Linked DNA regions of Homo sapiens: region 2 is linked to region 1. The links are contacts of gene promoters, found by promoter capture Hi-C in human tissues and cell types (Jung and others, 2019). All regions are on one chromosome and are shown on one strand. The core of a region is centred on a gene start or on the middle of the fragment in contact, and the rest is flanking DNA. Distances in the headings are between cores, read along the strand shown. Region 1 holds the start of KIF9 (kinesin family member 9). Region 2 overlaps ATRIP (ATR interacting protein).

The links. Contacts are between HindIII fragments. The study calls those that stand out against the background at their distance.
Region 2: a fragment that was not itself captured here is called in contact with the fragment with the promoter of KIF9 in region 1 in 1 of the 25 tissues and cell types used here (dorsolateral prefrontal cortex).

Annotation. Positions count from the first base shown.
Region 1 is chr3:47,279,945-47,284,636 of GRCh38, reverse strand. KIF9 (kinesin family member 9) reads left to right here and starts at 1,838. Exons shown (of 21, transcript NM_182902.4): 1 at 1,838-2,142. KLHL18 (kelch like family member 18) reads right to left here and starts at 1,693. Exons shown (of 10, transcript NM_025010.5): 1 at 1,543-1,693. The coding sequence starts at 1,671. RefSeq lists enhancers at 1,710-2,099, 1,315-2,514. The HindIII fragment of the contact is 9,211 bases long and covers 1-4,692 here.
Region 2 is chr3:48,457,787-48,460,486 of GRCh38, reverse strand. ATRIP (ATR interacting protein) reads right to left here. Exons shown (of 13, transcript NM_130384.3): 6 at 1,033-1,128; 7 at 571-700; 8 at 1-377. It overlaps ATRIP-TREX1 (ATRIP-TREX1 readthrough), which reads right to left. Exons shown (of 15, transcript NR_153405.1): 6 at 1,033-1,128; 7 at 571-700; 8 at 1-377. Among named protein-coding and RNA genes, the nearest start is that of TREX1, 7.1 kb to the left of the region's middle. The HindIII fragment of the contact is 6,156 bases long and covers 1-2,700 here.

The sequences.
Region 1 (4,692 bases), core at 589-3,088:
GGCTGGGCGCGGTGACTCACGCGTGTAATTCTAGCACTTTGGGAGGCCGAGACAGGCAGACTGCTGAAGCTCAGGAGTTCGAGACCAGCCTGAGCAACATGGTGAAACCCTGTCTCTACTAAAAATAGAAAAAATTAGCCAGGGGTAGTGGTGCGCGCCTGTAGTCCCAGCTGCTGGGGAGGCTGAGGCAGGAGAATCGCTTGAACCCAGGAGAGAGAGTTTCAGTGAGCCAAGATAGCGCCACTGCACTCCAGCCTGGGCAACAGAACGAGACTCCGTCTCAAAAAAAAAAAAAAAAAGAAAAAAGAAAAGAAGAGCAAAAGAATCTCTGCATAGTTTTATTTTTTCTTTTATTTATTTATTTGTGTGTGTGTGTGTGTGTGAGAGAGACAGAGAGAAATAGGAGAAATAGGATCTTGCTGTGTTGCCCAGGCTGGAGTGCAGTGGTGTGATTACAACTCACTGCAGGCTTGACCTCCTAGGCTCAAGCGATCCTCCCACCTCACCCTCCTGAGTAGCTGGGACTACGGGCACAGGCTACCATGCCCAGACAATTTTTTATTATTTGTAGAGACAGGGTCTCCCTACATAGCCCAGGCTGGTCTCCAATTCCCCCACTCAAGTGATCCTCTCGCCTCTCAAAGTGCTGGGATTACAGGTGTGAGCCACCATGCCTGCCCTGTTTGTTTTTTAAACAGGGATCACGCACAGATGCTGAGAGCTTTCCAGCTAAAGCCCAACAGGGAGCCCCACTGATCATCTCCCCAACCGGACGTCTCCACATGGTTCGGTGGCTTGGCCAGGCAGCAGCACAGCATGCCTCTTCCTCATGAAAAGACCCAGGCACAGGAGGGAGGCTGGCTCTAGCGACCAGAATGCTGGTGGGGAACAGGTGGTTAAGATATCTTTCCCTCTTAATATCAGTCAGCATCCCTCTCCCCACGCGGCCAGCAGGCCCAGCCCCGGGGACCTTTGTGGTGGTGAGTGGTGCCTTCCAGTATGGGGCAGGGTGGCTTCCCACCTCAAAAATTTTCCAGAGAAGATTTTAAAAGCTCTTAAGAGACAAAGTAGTAATTCAACAATTAAGGGCAATGATTCCTAAGGAGAAGCCTTCTCTTCTAGAACAGCACAGCCAAGTTCGACAGGCACAAAGAAATATCTGTAGTGACAAGAGAAGGTTCTTCAGTGGTGCCCATCAGCATGTGGAGCCGGCCACCGCCCCTGCCTCCATAGAAGGTAAGTCCATTTTCTCTTGTCTGCATGACAGAAAAAGGAGGCTGTCACCCGTGTCTCCCACTCCAAGGGCCTAAGCGGCGCACCTCTCAACCTTTCCTTTCAAGGGCTGAAAGGTTGTCCTCTTCCTCTCCCCACTCGGCCCCGATCCCCTTTTGCTCGGCACCTCTCTCCCCACTACTCGGCCCCCCTCACACCTCTTCTCCCCACCCCTCTCCCTGCTAGACCTCTCTTTCTCTGTCCCCCGCCCCTTTTTACTCCCCGCTCGACCCCTTTTCCCTCAGCCCGCTGCCGCCCAGTCCGCGGTACCTTGAGGGTCACGTCGCACAGCTTGCCCTGCCGCCGGATCTCCTCCATGACGCCGTAGCCGCGACTAGGCAACTCAGACACGGAGAAGTGCACCAGATCCTCCAGCTCCTCCGCGCCGTCCTCCACCATCTTCCCCGGCCGCTGCAACTGCGCAGGCCTCGCCGGCCGGCTAGACACTAACCAGGGCGGGGCGATAGCGCACGCCGACAGCCGCTCGGAGCGCGGAGCAGCAATCGGACGGGCCTCCGCGGCCGCCGTAGTTGAATCTCCTCGGCGCCGGAAGCCCCGCCACTCCGCTTCCTGGTTCATGTGCGGCCTTCGTTCCCTCGCTATCTCGACCTTGACTTCGCATGTGCATCCGCCGAAGTCTTTCTAGATCAATCGGCCCCATCTCTCGTCTTCCCGATTCGGCCATGACCTCACCCGTATCCTCGACGTAGGACCTCGGACTTCATTTCCGCCACCCCGACACTTCCGGAATCCCCGGAAGCGACCCGTTGCCATGGCGACTATGTACACAGCCAGGCAGCCCCGCGTGGGGAGTGCAGGTGGTTTCGGTTGCGGCAGTCGCGTCCCGGGAGCGTCGCTGCCTGGTGAACGGTGAGCAGGGGCTGCTCGCCGGTGGGAGTGGGGAGACGGGAAAAGGGTGTGCGCCCGGACTGCTGAAAGTGGCTGGGGTCCAAAAACCGCTTTATCTGGGGGTTCCCAGCTGGGTCGCTCATCTCTGAAACCCAGGCGAAGGAGGGCTCGACGTCGCGGGAGTCCTTTCAACCTGACCGCGGCTTACGGTCTTCGGAGCTAATGTTCATTGGTCCCACAAAGGGGTCCCACGTCGCGTCCAGGACATAGAGGCCGTGAGGCAGGGAGCCAGAGGTCGTCTGGACTCTTCCGTACTAGTCAGTTTTCGAACTAGAGGGGGCTTTGGGATCACCAGTCGGAGCCCTTCGTGTTACAGGTGAGGAAACCTCTCCAGAGAGGGACCGGAATGGGTCCAAAGCCCACTGCCGCCCAGGCTCCACGCGGGGGTCCGGCACATTGGGTGAGAAAAAGGAGAAAGTCTAGTTTTGCCTGCATCCTAGTCTTGTTCAGCCAAGGCCAGGTGCAGTTGGACCCAGTGTTTTGGATTCGGGTGTTGGTGCTGCCGCTACGGGTAGCTATGAGGGTTCCCCATGACAGCCCCTCATCTGGACGGGAGCACTGGAAGATAGGGACCCACCTGGTGCCTTCCACCCCACCAAACGCTCCCTTTCCTCTTGTCTAGTCTTCATGGCTGCTTGTTGCCAATTCTGTTCATTCCCACTAAAGACAAATGAGGAAACCTCGAGCGCCTTAACACAGAAGTCTCCTGGTGGCCATTCAGAGACTTGCTTTGTTATACCAGAAATATCAAAGGGTGGTTCCCCAAGGAGAGACATTCCCCACAAGGTCCTGAGGGAGAAAGGGAGGGGGCCGGGCGCCGTGGCTCACGCCTGTAATCCTAGCACTTTGGGAGGCTGAGGTGAGCGGATTGCTTGAGCTCAGGAGTTCAAGACCAGCCTGGGCAACATGGCGAAACCCTGTCTCTACGAAAAATACAAAAATTACCCGGGCGTGGTGGTGCACGCCTGTAGTCCTAGCTACTTGCGGGGCTGAGGTGGGAGGATCGCTTGAACCCAGGATGTGGAGGCTACGGTGAACCGAGATTGTTTCACTGCACTCCAGCCTAGGTGACAGAGTGAGACCCTGTCACAAAAACAAATAAACAAAAAACAAAAACAAAAACAAAAAAAGCGTGTGGTGAGGTGCTGGATGTGGATTTTTGCACCTGGAAACCAAGTGTCCTCCTGGAAGGGCTGTGGGCTTTGGTTGGAGTTGTCATGGAAGGGGAGTGACATCATATGCCCCTTGGGACTCTCTCAGTAGTGACTGAAGATAGACCCACATATGAAGATTCAGCTGCCCTCTGACTTCCAGCCATTACCATCACCAACCACCGCCATTTCCTGAATACCTACTCTGTGCTGGGCTCTGCCCTGGACATTGTGAGGGGATTCAAAAGAGATAAAAAGCACAATCCTTGCCTTCAAGCAGCTTGTAATTTAATTTTGGGAACTGAAACCCACTCAAATGAAGCGACGTAAGAATGGTAACAAGCAGTATTTCAGTAAGTGCAAGATGGCATGGGGTCCCTAAATGTTTGGGTGTTAAAGGGCTGCTGAGTAGCAGGCTCACAAGACGGGTGTGCAAAGGAAGACTTTATTGCAGGTGGATATGGCTCCTGGCCTGCTTGGAGCCATGGTGTCAGCATGGGAGGGCCTTGGGAAGCATACATGGGGTGACTGCGTGTGCATGTGCATGTTGGCAAATAGCAGGGCAGAGAAGGGCCAGGCTCTGGAGGGAGAGTGATGCTTTTGCTTATTTGTTTTGTTTTGTTGAGACAGTCTCACGCTGTTGTCCAGGCTGGAGAGCAGTGGTGTGCCATCACTGCTCAAGTGATCCTCCTGCCTCAGCCTCCTGGGAAATTGGGACCACACGCGTGCACCACCACACTTGGCAAATTTTTAAAATTTTTTGTAGAGACAAGGTCTTGCTGTGTTACCCAAGCTGGTTCCTAATTCCTGGCCTCAAGCGATCCTCCCACATTGGCCTCCCAAAGGCTGGGATTACAGGCGTGAGCCACCATGCCCAGCTGAGGTTGATGCTCTGAACTGGCCTGTGCTACTCTTGTGCAGGGGCTTCAGGGAGAGAGGCCTGGGCACCTGCTCCCAGAGCTCCCCTGCTTCTTCATGGTCCCTTTCGGAGCATACCCTGGATGGCATCTGAATTTCCCTGGGCAGGAGAATGGGCCCTTGGATGTGAAGAGTGGTTCCCCGGTTCCCCAAGCTTTAGAAATTGAGTGTGAGGCTGAGGTGGGTGGATTGCTTGAACCCAGGAGTTTGAGACCAGCCTGGGCAACATGTTGAAACCCCATCTCTACAAAATTGCAAAACGTTAGCCGGGTGTGGTGACACACACCTGTCCTACCACTACTCTGGAGGTTGAGGTTGAGGTGGGAGGATTGCTTGAGCCTGGGAGACAGGCTGCAGTGAGCTGAAATCACACCAGTGCACTCCACCCTGAGAGAGAGATCGAGACTCTGTCTGAAATAAATGTCTCAAAAATAATAAATAA
Region 2 (2,700 bases), core at 89-2,588, 1.2 Mb before region 1:
CAGTCACAGAGAAGCCTTCCAGGATGCACACTGAGTCCTCAGGGTTGGTCTCTACCCCAGAGCTCACGCAGGAGGAATGTGTCGGTGAGTCCCCAGGTGCTCCGCTTCTCTTAGCAGCTGCCAAGTCCTGCAGGGCCTGGCAGTGTAAGCCGATGAAGAACTGTACAAGGGGGAGGAAATGCACGGCTCCAGGAAGCTGGCAGAGTGGGAAGGCCCTTCTGCCTCCCTCTGCTGGGTCTCCATCACGTGAGCACTCATTCCGGGCAACCAGATTCAGTCCAGTGAATGCCAGGTTCTGTGCTTCTCTCAGGGCTGAGAGGGAAAATGACCCATCATAAGAACCTGTGGTCCTGAGGCCTGACATTCCAGCCAAGGTACTGGCAACAAACACAAAGAAAAATAGATTAAGTGTGGGATGGAGATAAGGTCAAGAGCCCCAAACAGCCTGCCTGCCAAATTCTCCAGGCTGCCTGCCCTTCCCACAGACTTCTCAGGCTGGCCAGGGCCAGAAAGGAATTTGCTTCCAGGAAGCTCCTTCCCAAACAAGCTTTCCAGGAGTCTTATGCTTACCTGCCAAACCCTGGTGGCTGCAGGGGGGTGCCAGCAGGAGACTCAGAACTACTACTCAGGAGGTGGCAAAGGCTTAGGGATGACCCTGGGATCAAAGGCTGCTTCAGGAGCAGGTTTATCAAAATGGAACCTGCAGAAGACAAGATGACTCTAGAAGGTTCTGACATGGGAGATCTTTTCGGTGGCTTTCAGAAGGAAACAGTAAGGATTCTTTGGATGCCAACTGTCCTCTAGGCTGCCACTAAGCCCCAGGAAGATGCCTGTGGGTGCGGAAGGCTCTGGGACATACCTGCCCTTGGCCCTTTCCACTTTATAAAGTCTTCTGCTTAAGCCACATACTTTGACTTCCCTGGACTCTCTGAAGGACTGCCCGGGGCACCGGTTCTCAGAGGCCTGGGCAATTCTTCTGCATATTACTCAGAGCCATGCAGGCCCCTGCAGGAGAAGCAGGGATTCTGGTACCTTGAGTGTTTGATCTCTGTCTCCAGCTGTCAACAAAGCTTTTCTGGGCCTCTTCTTGTTTTATGGAGTCACCTCTCAGACTGTGGGGCTTACTATCTGAAATGTGATAAAATGTAAATCAAAACTTGAGCCCAGAAGCATGGGCATATTAGAAACTTTTACATGCAATGAGTTTAAAACACACGCTGTTCTACTTCTTCGAACTTGGAACAAACAAGAGCCAAAGCGGCTCAAGAGCCCTGCATCTTTTACCTTCCTTATGTAAAACAGGAACTCATACAAGGAAAGGAAAAGAAAATCAAGCTGTTTGCCTCACTCAAAATGAGGCAATTAGATAAAACAGTGACCACTAACATTGACATGGTGCTTGTTACGTGCTAGACAGTGTTTTAAGAGCTCTATACGCATCAGCCCATTTGTTCCTCAGTGACCCTACAAGGATTTATCATTAGGTCTGTTTTACATATAGGGAAACTGAGGCACAGAGACTAAAGGACTTGCCCAAATCATATAAGCCAGTTAACAGCATTACTGGGACTCACATCCAGGCTACTGGGCTCTACTGCCTGCTTGTAACACTACTGTACACTGCCCCTTTAGCTGCTAGATGCCAAAAATGTAAGTGGGCTACAGTTTCTCAGAAGTGTTATGATGGCCAAGGATTTGAAAGGTTGATGGTAAGAAGAGGGTCAATGTATCCGATTTATAAGATACACTGACATAGCAGTCTGAAAACCTACTGATGTTAGATTGTCTCTCTCTAAAAAACAGCAGATCCCCTCAATCTGGACTGAGTTATAAAAACTCAAAAGCTGGACTACAAAAGGAAAACAGAGGCTGGGCACGGTGGCTCATGCCTGTAATCCCAGCATTTTGGGAGGCTGAAGTGGGTGGATCACGAGGTCATGAGATTGAGACCATCCAGGCCAACATGGTGAAACCTGTCTCTACTAAAAATACAAAAATTAGCTGGGTGTGGTGGCGCATGCCTGTAGTCCCAGCTACTCGGGAGGCTGAGGCAGGAGAATCGCTTGAACATGGGAGGCAGAGGTTACAGTGAGCCGAGATCACGCCACTGCACTCCAGCCTGGTGACAGAGTGAGACTCCGCCTCAAAGAAAAAAAAAAAAAACAAGAAAAGAAAAACAGATTCCTGCATACTAGCTAGGTTTTTGGCATGGTCAATTGATGCTGTGATGGTTTAAAAATATGCCCACAAGCATGATGGCAGGTGCCTGTAATCCCAGCTATTCGGGAGTCTGAGGCAGGAGAATCACTTGAACCCGGGAGGCGGAAGTTGCAGTGAGCTGAGATCGTGCCATTGCACTCCAGCCTGGGTGACAGGGTGAGACTCCGCCTCAAAAAAAAAAAAAAAAAGGCCCACAAATGCTTTGACACAACTCCCCTTCAAAAGGTATAAGCTTGGGAGGAGGGGGGAGGGATAGCATTAGGAGATATACCTAATGCTAAATGACGAGTTAATGGGTGCAACACACCAACATGGCACATGTATACATACGTAACACACCTGCACGTTGTGCACATGTACCCTAAAATTTAAAGTATAATAATAAAATAAAAATAAAAAATAAAAATTAAAAAAAAGGTATAAGCTTGGTTTCTCCCCTTGAATGACGCCCAGACTCAGTGATTTGCTTCTAACAAATAC